2 separate regions of the Homo sapiens genome follow, and region 1 is linked to region 2. The links are contacts of gene promoters, found by promoter capture Hi-C in blood cells and fetal thymus (Javierre and others, 2016). All regions are on one chromosome and are shown on one strand. The core of a region is centred on a gene start or on the middle of the fragment in contact, and the rest is flanking DNA. Distances in the headings are between cores, read along the strand shown. Region 1 overlaps LOC105378797 (a long non-coding RNA gene). Region 2 holds the start of ZRANB2 (zinc finger RANBP2-type containing 2).

The links. The method cuts DNA at HindIII sites, captures the fragments that hold promoters and counts their contacts. A CHiCAGO score of 5 or more calls a contact.
Region 1: a fragment that was not itself captured here is called in contact with the fragment with the promoter of ZRANB2 in region 2 in 1 of 17 cell types (fetal thymus); the score reaches 8.2 in fetal thymus.

What each region holds. Positions count from the first base shown.
Region 1 is chr1:72,482,590-72,489,638 of GRCh38, forward strand. All of the region lies in intron 1 of LOC105378797 (a long non-coding RNA gene), which reads left to right. Among named protein-coding and RNA genes, the nearest start is that of NEGR1, 200 kb to the left of the region's middle. The HindIII fragment of the contact is 3,339 bases long and covers 586-3,924 here.
Region 2 is chr1:71,078,379-71,084,451 of GRCh38, forward strand. ZRANB2 (zinc finger RANBP2-type containing 2) reads right to left here and starts at 2,657. Exons shown (of 10, transcript NM_203350.3): 1 at 2,562-2,657; 2 at 278-330; 3 at 79-187. The coding sequence starts at 2,617. ZRANB2-DT (ZRANB2 divergent transcript) reads left to right here and starts at 2,946. Exons shown (of 4, transcript NR_046217.1): 1 at 2,946-3,035. RefSeq lists an enhancer at 2,607-2,896. The HindIII fragment of the contact is 3,322 bases long and covers 2,512-5,833 here.

The DNA of each region.
Region 1 (7,049 bases), core at 1,005-3,504, 1.4 Mb after region 2:
AACTATAATTTGAGGACAACTTACATGTGGCAAGAAATTAAATTGGCATTCAAGTCAAATATACTGTATTAAAACTTCACTATAATACTTGGTAGTATTTTTAAACATTGTAAGTCACTTAAATATTTTCGTAGTACCACTCCTCGCCTACAAGAAAGAAAGTGCACATTCAGTATTAAATCCGGTTTTCTCACAATCCAACAAATTATCTATGCTTTCCGTGTCCTAAGATTGGGTGACGTGAGATAATCCCATTCCACTCCTGTCGGCAGTAACTTTGAAAGGCCCTGTTCCTCCTCTATCCTTCTCCTGACTGCTGATATATAACTAGAAATCCTGCTCACTATACCCAGACAGCCCAAATTCCTGCTCTGTTCTAACCATCCCCAGTTCCTGGATGAAATTTTCATCATATCTATGCCTTCTTTTTCAATTTGCATTTAATTCTTAACATAACACTGGCTCAAAATTTGTCACCCACTCAGAGGTCATCTTATCTCTGGAACTGTGAAAGGTACTGTACTTTGGTAAATACAACACCTTTTTGAAAAGTATACAGTCTAGTGAATTCAAGAGAAAGGTCAAAGCTTAAGTAAATGAAACCGAGTGTTATCTATACAATGATATTTGACATAAGGAGAGTCTTTGAAATTCCAGGAAGAGCGTAAAGAGAAAAAACAAAATGCCCTTCAGAACAGACACATAAAAGGAAACCACATGTCTTTAGAAGGCAGAAAGAAAGAAGTGCACTTTGCTACACTATACTATTAATTGTTGTACTGGTTAGTCATTCAGACAGAATTCAAATCACTTCTAAAATTTTGAAAAAAGTAGACTTTATCTCTGGCCCAATTTACCTGCAACTATTTTGAGACAGTGTAAGATTTTTTTAAGACTGTGAAGATTACCAGCATCATAAACTTGTTACTCTTCTATCATGCAAGAATAGGCTGAGCTTAGTTGGAGGCCTGTAGTTTAAAATTCATCATTTCGCTGTACAGTTATGACTGTGCAAAAGAAGTGTTTGCATATCGTGGGTATTTTTTCCATTGTTTTGCAAAAATTCTTAACCAAGTTATAAGGAGATGAAAAGCTATTTTGGTCTGTATTTGAAAATCTGTATATTAGAGCACATTTATTATATATGTAAATAATAATAAAATAAATTTCATTGTTTCTGTTTTTTACTTTTTCCTCATACTACCATTTTCTTACAACAGAGCCTAACATAATTATGGCTGTTCATTTAAAAAGGTTTGGAGATGGTAATATCTAGTGAAGTGAGATAGACCTCAGCAAAAAAAAAAATCCACATCTGCAAATAACTGGTAGGATACATGTTAATGAGTTGTTTCTGTGGTCCCAGTGCCTTAAGTGTGTTCAGGATCCAAATCTAAATGCAATGTGCTTTTGAACACTAAAAGTGACAGGGCAAAATCTGGGTGGCTTATCACTGGTGAAAACAGGTGCACACCATCTCTTTCATTTCATTGACATGCATTCTGCACCATTCATCAACCTGATTTTTTCTTCTCTAGCCTAACCTTTTGGTGACAGTAAACATGACTTGACAGAGGGTCCAACAAAGAAATTATGTGATCTTTAACCTTTTCTGGTTTGTGACAGGTTTGGGACACATCTGGACTAATCCATCAGGGAGGGAAGATTTCTTTAGAATTATAATATGACAGTGATCTTTAGGAGCAAACAGGCATGTGTTTGTGTAAAGTCCCTTTCAGTTAAATCTAAATGAATAGAAAATAATGATAATGTTCAGCCTAAAGAAGCCCATTTTCCTAGGGTAAAAGGAACCTTCCTTCTCAAATGAAAGGCAATAATAGTCCAGCATACATTAAAAAAAATATGTAGCATCTACTAGAAAAATTGTTTATAAATTGGTTCTTATGGATTTATTATTGAATATAGATATGTATGTAAATGAGAAAGCAGACACTGTAGGCAACTGTGGAATTTAGTCATGTGCAGAGTGAGGATCATTAATTGTAAATATGCATTTGTGTAAATATATCTGTAGGTGAAAATGTATTTATACATGACGAACTTTTTAAACTATTTCCTCGAAACTATTTGTCCAATATAATTGGATGACTAAATACCAATGCAGCTACTCCCTAGTTTTGAAATAAAAGAGAAGAAATAGAATCAAGTATAAATACTCAGAGTTATCCTATGCCCTGGTGCAAAAATGGGTCTTTTCTAATCTCTTTGTTTTTGTTTTTTTTTAATCAGAATGATTTACATATGAATTTTATTCTGAACTAGAAAAAAAACTATGAAAATCCAGCTCAGTGATCTCTCAGAAAAAGTAGGAAAAATAAGGCATTTTACTCCTATCAAACACTATACTGGTTTAAAATGCTTTTACTCACTTTGGCATATAACTTTACATATTGAACTCCCAAACCACAATTAAACAGAATTTTCCTATCCCTCATTCCCTTTACATTTTGCCTGACTGTCCCAGAAGACTAAAGAATAAACTGATAGTCTCTACTGTCTTATATTCTGAGATAACTGAAGTCCCTCCATTTTTTTAATGGGAAACATCCAGACCTTCTTTTGTTTTAACCTTCGAAGGAAAACATTAAATTCCTACATGTGTGCTTACAATAATGATTTTAGTAACATTTTGGGTGGTGAATGGAGATCATATTTGAGCTGATTAGCAATTTAATCCCTCAGTAAATGACAGGAAAAATATTCCTATGGTGTGGGATACTTGGTAGAGGTGCTCTGCCAGGCTAAAACAAAATGTAGCCACAACTGTTTCCTGATTATATAGATTTGTAGCTGAAATAAATAGATGTTTCCCATTATTATCTAGTAGAATTAATAGGGATCCTTTAAAACTACACCTACCACATGACTAAGTTACTTTTTATAAGTTCCTACTATGTTTCTGTGATGTCATATATCCAACTGTAGGCTTAGTTCACGATGTTCTTCAGCTCCTTTCATCAGATGATTTTTAAGATGTATTTTATAAATAAATATTTTAGGCCTCAGATCTCACCTCTCAGTTTCAAATGAAGGCTTCGTTTGGATTCTGTCACTGATTTAAATCAAACACTTGTAAACTATTATTTAAGCACATGCAGAGTTTTCTAAACTACTGTTTGAGTCATAAAAAGCTCCTTCATTCCATTTTATTTAGAATTTGTAAAATAATGTACTACTTTTTAAAGTCAAAACGACTTTCTAATTACTTTCCTGCAGTTGGCTTCTAACATACAGTGAGTAATATTTCTTGTTAGCTAAAATTAAGTTTAAAAATCAGTAACAAGTCTACAGAGTAGTAGAAGATTTTCATTTATAAACATATCTTCATGAAATGTAGGTTCTCAGCCTAGGAAAGGCTTGGTGGAAAGCAGCCAGGGTGTTATAGGGAACATATTTCCAGGGATAGCAGCAAGAGATCATCAAATCTTGGCATTTTTCCTAGAATTTATCCTGAGCAGTTTAAGGAAAAATAAATGTGGCTATACACAGACCCTGGTGATAGGGCATGGTGTATTAAGTAAGGCTAAGAGATTGGTTGAAGATTACATATTGACTAGCCCTTTGGTGACAATATCAGGTAAGGGAATTAGGGAAATCTTGGAAGTCTCCAGGTGTGGCAACTAACCAGGGGCCTTGAAAACACTACAGAAAACTCCACATGGGCCTGGAATATTTCTGTTGCATTCACCTTTTTAAACCTAGTTCAGTACTGCATGTAGTGTTGGAAAAGATGAGTGAAAGGGAGGTAAAATTTAATACGTCCATAATCTTCTCCATGGTTGCTCTTATGCACTTTGAGCCACCCCAAATAAACAGAGCGCCTATGTAAGACTAGTCTTCTTGCCAAGCAAAGGACTTAAAAATAGTCCTTTAGACCTAAGTCCCCCTTCATAGATATTCTGAAGCTTTCAACAATGATAAAGTAGATGCTCAGGAAATATTTCTCAACTGAATAAAAATATTAATGAGTGGGTAAAATGAGTGTGGGGATGTTGAGCCAAACTTTAGTTTTCTAATTTAAAATGATCTAACTTTTAAAGCTTAGGATTTCTCCTGGGTGTAGTGAGAGAGTAGGGTAATGGTGTGCTTATAATTGTTTTAACAATGGGTGGTGAACCCATGTGACAATGGTCAACTCAGTCATTTGGGCTGAATTAATAGATATGAGCCACCATAGCATGTTTGATGTATTCCGAATCTGTTTTCAAGTATGTAGCATCAACAAATAAAATTACACCAAGGTGTTTATAAGAATTTTTCAAAAGCTTAGAAAAGACTTTGATAGTTACCTAAAGTATAGTAAAAATGCCTCCTTAGATAGAGGAAGGAGAATTGCTGTGTTAAGAATAATAACACTGCATAGTGATACATAAAAAGGGAAGGCAACAAAATTTCATAGGAGGTAAACCAATTAACTGAGAATTTCTTATTTTCTGCTAATGGCAGTCTGCACAGCAAGGAAAGCCAACAAATTATATAGGGACCCGAGAACTAAATCTAATATAGCTGCTACTCTAGTTTTTGGTTAAGGAAAATATGCTTTGTCAGTGTCCATCCAGTGTCTGACTAGTGTATTAATGGTGAAAAGGAAAAGGATACGTAATAATTAGCCAATCCTAAAGTTGGTAGTGGTTGACCATCGGCATAATTTAACTTACCAAAGACACTTTAATGTTTTTTTTTCCCTAGAGAAGATTCAAGAATTAATTATACAAATGATATGCAAACTCAGAAAAAAAAATTGCACACAGTACCTGTAATATCCAGCTAGTCATAAAAATTTCTAGATTTGCCTTTTGGAGTTGATCTAGAAAAATTCCAGATATGTGTATTCTGTCAGAGATTAGAGATTTCCTTTCTTAGAATATATCATGTGATAAAGAAACTTTCACTGGTAGAATGGCAATTTCTCCTTAGAGGCTTTATGCCTCTTCTGGATTAATGCTTTTGACAAATAGATGGAAATGATCTTAGATCTTTGTCTTTTGGGGTTTAAATGAAGATCATCTATATATTGTAAAAGAAGGATGTCACGATGAAATTTTATACTCTTTAGGTCTTGATTAAGATAAGTAGAAGGGGGCTTCTGTAAATAATTGATGTATAATAGACATGGCATGTGTTGATTTTTCTATGACAGGGCAAACAGATAGTGACTGTTCAAATCTAGAGGAACAATAAAAGGACATAGCACAAGTACACAACAGCAAAGTAGATGGATTTAGGCAGTACTCAGAGCAAACTAATATTTGATTTTGAGACCACTGAAAAATAGTGGATCACAATTTTGTTTATAATACTAAAATCTTGCACAAACATGTATCTATGCATACTAGATTATTTTTTCTATGAGCAATACAGTTGTGTTACAAAAGCTAGTAGAAGGAATAGAAGGATAACTTTTTGCTGAACATACCACAGTAAATCCAGACCTTCTTTTGTCTTAACCTTCAAAGGATATTGGGCAGGACTGGGTAGAGGATGAGATAAATCATTTATTACTTAGATGGGATCAGCGCCTAATAATTTCAAGATACCAGTATATTCCTTGGCTTAGAAGATACCAGTATCCTCAAGCAGTCCCTCAAGTTGTGATTGGGTTAAGTATCCAAGAATGAAAAAATAAACATCCCCTTGAACTATTAGTGTATGGTGCATGGGTCACATACAACAGATTTCAGGTATTTCAGAAAACAGTCCATCTAGAAGACGCTTGATTTGAAAGCTACCACAAAGGAATCTCTCAATAATAAATTTGTTTGGATGTTATCACAAAGGAAGAATGAATGTTGGCTCATGGGAAGGTTGAGAGGTATTGTTATATGCTGAGTGATGGGGACAGTCTGAGGAGTATTTGAAAATGCTAACACTCCAGTAGTCTGAAGATTCCTAAGAAAGTCACAAAAATAGTGGTAGGACAGAATAGTACCCATGCTATTTAGAAAGTTTTGCTTCTGCCTCTCTATTATTAGAGATGGTTCTCTTTTATGGTTTAATAGAATCATTGGAAATTGTGTGCTACAGTCTCCCTTGGAGTCCCTTTCATAACGTTTAGAAACTTTTATTTAGTTCTTTTCTCCTTTTTATTAAGATGAAGCAATTAATATTTCAGTTACCTTTTTGCTTGCAAAACCAGCAAAGGTCTTGTTGAACATGAGACTTTTATTGTTTCTTAAGGTTGTGGGAATTCTACATTCAGCTGCTTTATTTTGAAATCTGTAAGTTTAGTTTGCGGGTTGTATTTTTCTATCTAAATTATTTTCAGTGCATTCAGCAAAAGGCTGAAGTTTGTATTGTAGAGTGATCTGCCATCCAAAATTTTGTTTACATACAAAATCTACAATATCTGGTTTTAGGCCACCTACAAAAATGTTGGAGAGGGTAGTGGAAATGCCAGCATTGGGGCCTAATGCTGCATATTATCGAAAGGCATGTATTAGTCTATTTCTGAGTTCTGTGGTTTTACAATTTTGCTGTTTGCAAGAGTGAACCAATATGCAATTTACTGGGCAAGACCTGAGGTATATTCTTTAAAATAGATTGTCCCTACTTCTGTACCCTAACATATTCCATTTCATTAAGGTTTATTGCATTACATTTTAAGTCCTCCTCAGAACGCTGCAATTAGGCTTTTCCAAGCAAGTTTTGCATCTCCTGGCCCCACCTAAAAATGCATTAATCGATAGAGGTCAGGGAGGCCTTAAGTATATGTATCCAAGACAAATCTGAATGTTTCAGTGAACCTTTTTTTCCTTTCTGTCCTGGGATCTGTGAAGTTCTTAACAATGCCACAGGGATATATATATGATTAGGGTTTTAAGTTCGTGGACTAGGAATCTTCTTCATAGGAAGCTTTAAATTTTAATGAATGTTTCAGGAGAAAGGGGAAAGAATGACTAAGAAGTCCATGGAGGATGAATTAAATTTATGGGGGAAGAAGGAAGTAAGAGAAAGGTGTGATACAAGTAGGAAAGTAGAACTGAATTTACCTCTTTTCTCTTCCGTCTCTAGGGAGTCTTTTAGGGAAG
Region 2 (6,073 bases), core at 1,407-3,906:
AAGAGCTGTAATATAAACAAGTAGTGGCCAGATCTATTATTTTGGAAGAAAGAGCAGACAATAATTTAAAAAACATACGTTTTACATTGCCAGTCATTAGCACTAAATAGGCCTCGGCTCTTTTCTGCAAGTGTCTTTCCTATTTCAGTGCCCCCAGCTTTCATCATCTTGGCCTCAGTTGTTTTCTCTGAAAACAGAAAAATCATGCAATATGAACCTGGAGAAATAAATAAATGATACATATACAGTATAAATAGAATCTTCTTTAAATACTTACCCCGACCACATCGATTACAGCTGGTTCTTCTAGCAAAGTTTACATTTCCACATCTAAAAACAGATTAAAAAGCATTTATAAAAATTTAAATTTGTAAAATTTTACATTTTAACTTGTCCTCACTACATATCTGGAATTCATAACTTCTAATCCATCTTAGTCATGTTAATGTCAATGTTACCAACAAAAAACTCCACACAATTTACTGGGGGAAAAATACTTGATTGGAGCCACAAATTCAGAATAAGATATCCCAATCCTCCATTTACCAGTCATGTGATCTTGATTAAGTTACTTAGGATCTCTGCCTCAAGTCCTCACATTAGCACATATCATTAGTTATAATCCCTTTACAAAGTTGAAAGTGAGAGTTAACTCCACTTCACTAATTACTTACAAGCTACCAGGGAGTTTTAAACCCTAGCGGTGGACCAATGAGGAAAAAAACTTATAAATCAAGGAGGGCTTCATGGATCTTAATGAAATTATCTTTTTACATGCAGTAGGTAGGATGCTAAGGAACCAAATATGATAGGTTGTACTGACTAAAAATACAAAAAGATTCAATAATTGTAAGAAAACTGAGTTTTACAGGGCATTTCTCAAACCTCTGAGACTTCGCTGAAAAAAATGACACAACCACCAAAACCAATAATCTCAACACATGTAGTACAGTAAGACTTTATGCTTATACTCAACAAACTCAAACCTAAAGAATTACTGGTTCACTCACATGACCTTAGAAGTGTACGTGTATATTGGTAAAAGTATGTTAAATGCTCTGGATAACATGGAATGCTTAAACTTTAAAAAGCTGATTTTTAAGGCATTATACTAGAATACAATACAGATGTGAAGTATGGGATGACACTAAAGTGAAACACTCTAAATAATATTTAGGTTAAGTTTTTCCCCTAAAAATATTCCTTTTAACTCCATTAAGCATGGAAAATATACTCTGAAAATTTATCCTGCATTTAAACATATTGTACAAACAACATTCTATTCATATATTTGTAAATGAGTTGAAATGAACTCTCATTGAGAGTCCTACCTCTGGGTGTGCTGTCATTAAAGACACTGACAAAAGCACATTATTTTACAGGTAACAACAAAGTCAGAAGTTGTTGTTCTAAATCTTTTGAACGTTTTCAATAATGTCTTACCACTCAGAGCAATACTATCCATAACATATAACTTTGGTTCTATTCAGTATCATTTGTTAGGCTTGAACTACTCCTTCAGGTCATCTTAATATCAAATTACTATCAATAGCCACCAATTAGAATTTGCTACACGTCACTGTTTACACACCCTATCCATGTTATTTCATGTTTTCATTAAAAAAAAAATTCTATTCCTTTTTTAGCAGTTAAATAAGTAATAGAATTTTAACTAAACCCAGGTTTATTTCAAAGTTTTTGCTTTTTACAATCAAAACCTATTTGTGGCTAACTTAGGTACAACAAATAAAAGGCTTTTATGTGAACATGAGTTGTACATTAAATTATTTTCCATGTTATTTCCGAATAGATACACCTATTTGTGCACCCTTCAAAAAAAATCTGATTAACTATCTAGTCGAGTACTGGCTTTGGCAACAATGTCAAAAAGCAGAGCCACTAACACACGTGCTTCTCTGCTGCAGGCATCTTAAGGGCTGAGTAGGCAAAAACACAGGCCTCTTCCCTCCTTTTCGGCTCTAAGGAGGCGAAAAGCCCAATTCTTGTGGAGAAATGATCCACAAAGAAAATGTCAGAATTTCCCAAACCGAAGAGGGTAGAGCTTCCGGAAAAGGGGAAAATAGTATGGAGGAAAAGTTTGAGTAAAAATACAAAACAAGGTGAACTATAAGAGGCAAAAGGACGAGTGCGAGAAAGCAATATTTTCCGTGAACAAGAGTAAAGTTCTGCAGAGAAAAGTCACGTGGGGGAGATCCAACACCAAGCTGGCCTGACTGGAGAGGTTTCCTATCGCTAAAACCTGGCCGGGGCGGGGGAGGGGGGTGGGGGCAAAAAGGTAGGCCATCTCGCACTCTAAAAAGAGAGGCTACCTTGCGGAGGTAATGTCGAGGAAACGCTGAAGACATATCTAGAACAAAGGCTCCCGGAAAGACCTCTCTCGTGAGGAGATTGGGAGCCTTCTTCCCGCCAGGGAACTGGCGGTTCGCCGCCTCAACCCGTCTTAAGGCACAGAAAATCATAAAAAAGGAAAATGCCGGACGGACCTCGGAAAGCTTCCACTAACAAACTCCGTCCCAATTCAGGACCCTTCTTGAACTCACTTTTTGTCAGGGCAAATCCAGTCCCCGTCACTGACTCGGAAATTCTTGGTCGACATCTTGAACGCCACCAGCACAGCCACCCGCAGCTATGTCTTCACAGGAGGAAAACGGGCCGGGGACTTTCGGCAACTCGGGGCTGTCCCCACACTGCCTGACTCGCGCCTACTACTGTGTCAGGGTTTGATAATGAGGGAACTAGCCAGGAATTCAGCTTGTACGTTGTTGTCCAGACTAAGATGCCTGTGCTACTGTTTGTTAGATGGAAAAGTTAAAATACAAATATCTTTTCTAGAACTAAACTCACAGGCGCCATAAGGACAACCCAGGCAGGAGGCCTTCGTGGCACTAGAAGCCTCGGAGAGCCCCCTACAGGTGGGAGGACCCAAGAGTAAAGTACTTCCGCTTCCTTAGGTGGAGCTGGAAAGGTGGAGGCGGAAGTGACTGATCAATTCAGGGGCGTGGGGTTCGTTTAGGGTAAGAGGCGGCTCGGGCTCTTCAAGTGTTTAGAGAAATTATTTTAATAAGGCATAAAAATTCTGTTATTTCATACACATGGGATGTCGTTTGGAAACCTATTTTTATATATACATAAATAGGTGTAACAGATAAGTAAGCAACTTATACATGGGAACCAGCTGGTAATTTTAAAACTGAGACATTGTCAACACTGTTTAAATTACCAGTGTCTTTTCTGATACCATCCCATTACTTTCTTCCACAGATAACACTTTCCCATATTTGGGATTTATTCTTTTGCTTTTTAAAAATTTATGTACGTTGTTAGTCCAAACTGCACCATTTTTGTAAGCCCCCCTGCCATTTTGCAGACCTTAGTCAAAGTGAAACATTCCACGGGGTTCGGGCGTGAGAAACAGGCTGCCTCTTATACTCTGCTGGGAGAAAGTACCACATTCCACTGGAACAAGGGCCAGAGCCGCCTCGTCCTGGGAACACCTTATCAACATGTTCCCAGGAAGCAGGCCATGGCCCCCCAGACCACTCCCACCCAGGCCTATAAATCACCCCAGCCTGTAAGAAGCAACGGGCACTGGCATTAAGCTGGTCTCCCACCTCTGTAGGTCTTATGCTGGACATAAATCCTGTATTTGTTGTTAAGCCACCCTCTCTTTCTTTAATCCTTGCCTTCCCTTCAAAACCTAACATACATGTATGTTTAATTTTATGAGCTGTGTAAGCATAGTTGATTCTGTACTCTTTTTTTGTTCATTATGCTTCTAAATTAATCCTAGGTAGTTGCATGTAGAAGTGTATAGGTGTAATTCTTTTATTTGCACTGATGTATACTGATACTATTCCGTTTTGTGGTTTTGTGACAGTTTATTCCTTCTGTTTCTCAGGCTTGGTATTACAAACAACACCAGTATGAGCATTCTTATGCATAGATTCTGGTATATAAATGCATTAATTTTTTTTAGAATACAGCATATACAGTCATGCCTCACTTAATGATAGGGATATGTTCTGAGAAATGCCACTTTCGGCAATTGTGCTGTTGTGTGAACATCATAGAATGTGCTTACACAGGCCTAGCAGGTATAGCCTACTACACACCTAGGCTATATGGTATAGCCTATTGCTCCTAGACTACAAACCTGCATTTAGTACATCTTATTGTACTAAATACTGTAGGCAGTTGTAACGCAGTGGTATTTGTGTATCTAAATATAAAGGTACAGTAAAAATATGGTATTGTAATCTTATGGGACCACCTTTGTATATGTGGTTCATCATTGACTGAAATGTCTTTATGCAAGTATGATTATGTTTAGGAGAGAAATTGTTCAACTACTCTCTAGTTATGATTGTTGCTTTAAAATCTGTATTATAACATTTTGGTCATCTAGGAGTTAGCAGGTGTTGATTATATTTTCCCTTGCAAGTTGGTCACATTTTTCCAGTTCTTTTATACTGTGTAATTGTGGATTTTATCTAGGACATTTTGAACATTATGTTGCATAGACTGAGTCCTGTTAAAAGCCTTTAGGGAATGTTGATTTTTTTTTGTTTTAGAAGGCAATCGATCCAATTTGGTTCAGGTCAAAAGTTCGGTCTCATCTTCTATGAGTACTGGTTCCATGTCAGCTGGGTTTTCAAAGGCTTTGCTGTGTCCTATACCTACAATACTCAGGGATTATTTGGGGATGTTAGCAGTAGTTTAAATTGAAATTCAGTTTTGCTATGCTATTTTGTGTTTGTTCTGCACGTGTTCAGTTTAGGTGTGAACACAGAACTTGTATAGGTTCATACATAGAATTAGGGGATCCTCTTCTCTAGCTCTCTCCTCTTACATTCTTCTCCTTTTGTCTCGCAAGGTCCTCTCACCAGAAATATGAGGTTCCTCTTGGAGTTTTAGCAGCCTGGCATAGCAGCTGACTAGGGCAGATTCTGAGACAAAGCAGTGACAGAAAAGAGAGAGAAAAAATGTGGATTCCCTCTACACTCTTCAGACCACAAAGGCCTCCTTTTCTACTTCCTTTGTCCATAAAAACAGAGCTTCTGTTAGTATTGTAGATACCCAAGCCTAGGGCCTCACTCTTGGGCCAATGCCCAGAGAGAGAGAGAGAGAGAGAGAGAGAGAGAGAAATTAAAAAAAAGAAAGAAAAACCAGAAGAGGGGGAGCTAAGTATTCCCCCGACTAACTTTTGGCTCACAAAAGCCCCCTATCCCCATTCTGGCAAGACATACAGGTTTCTGTCGGTTTTTCCTGTCACCACAGTTTCACTAGGTGTTGGGCCTTAGGTCAAAAGCTGTGAGAAAAGAGGAAAAGCAAACATACAGAACATTTCTCCAGGTTTTCATTCTCCACTCCAATTTACCTGTTTTTGTTTTTGTTTTTCCAGAGTCTTCAGGCAGTTGCTTTTGGTATTTTGTCTTGAGTTTCTCACTGTAATCATTAGGAAAGATAGGTTATTGTGGGCTTTCTATGTCTTGGTTGGTACTGCAAGTCAGGGGAATGCAAATTAAAACCATATGATACCATTATGCATTCATCAAACTGACTAAAATGAAAAATCAGAGAATACTAAGTGTTGGAAAGCATGTAGAGCAACTGTAATTCTCATACATTGCAAAAAGTAATTGATACATCTACTTTGGAAAATGTCGGAATATATTAAATCTGAACATTTTCGTACACTATGACCCTGAAATTCCATTTTTAGGTATATTACCAACAGGAATGCACATAATGTTCACTGAAGATGTATATAGTAATGTTCAGAGCTGTACTATTCAAAATAGCCCAAACTGGAAGCTTCCCAATTGCTTATCAGTGGTAGCCTAGATAAATAAATTGTCATATGTTTACACAGTTGGAATGTGTAATACAGTAGCAAGAATAACAAATTACACTCAGATTATTGAACAGTATTTCACTCACAAATACAGTCTTGAATTGAAAAAAGCAAGACACAAAATGGCATATGCTATATGACTCCATTTACATGAAGTTCAAAAGCAGCCAAACTAATCTTGGATAGTGATCACCCTTG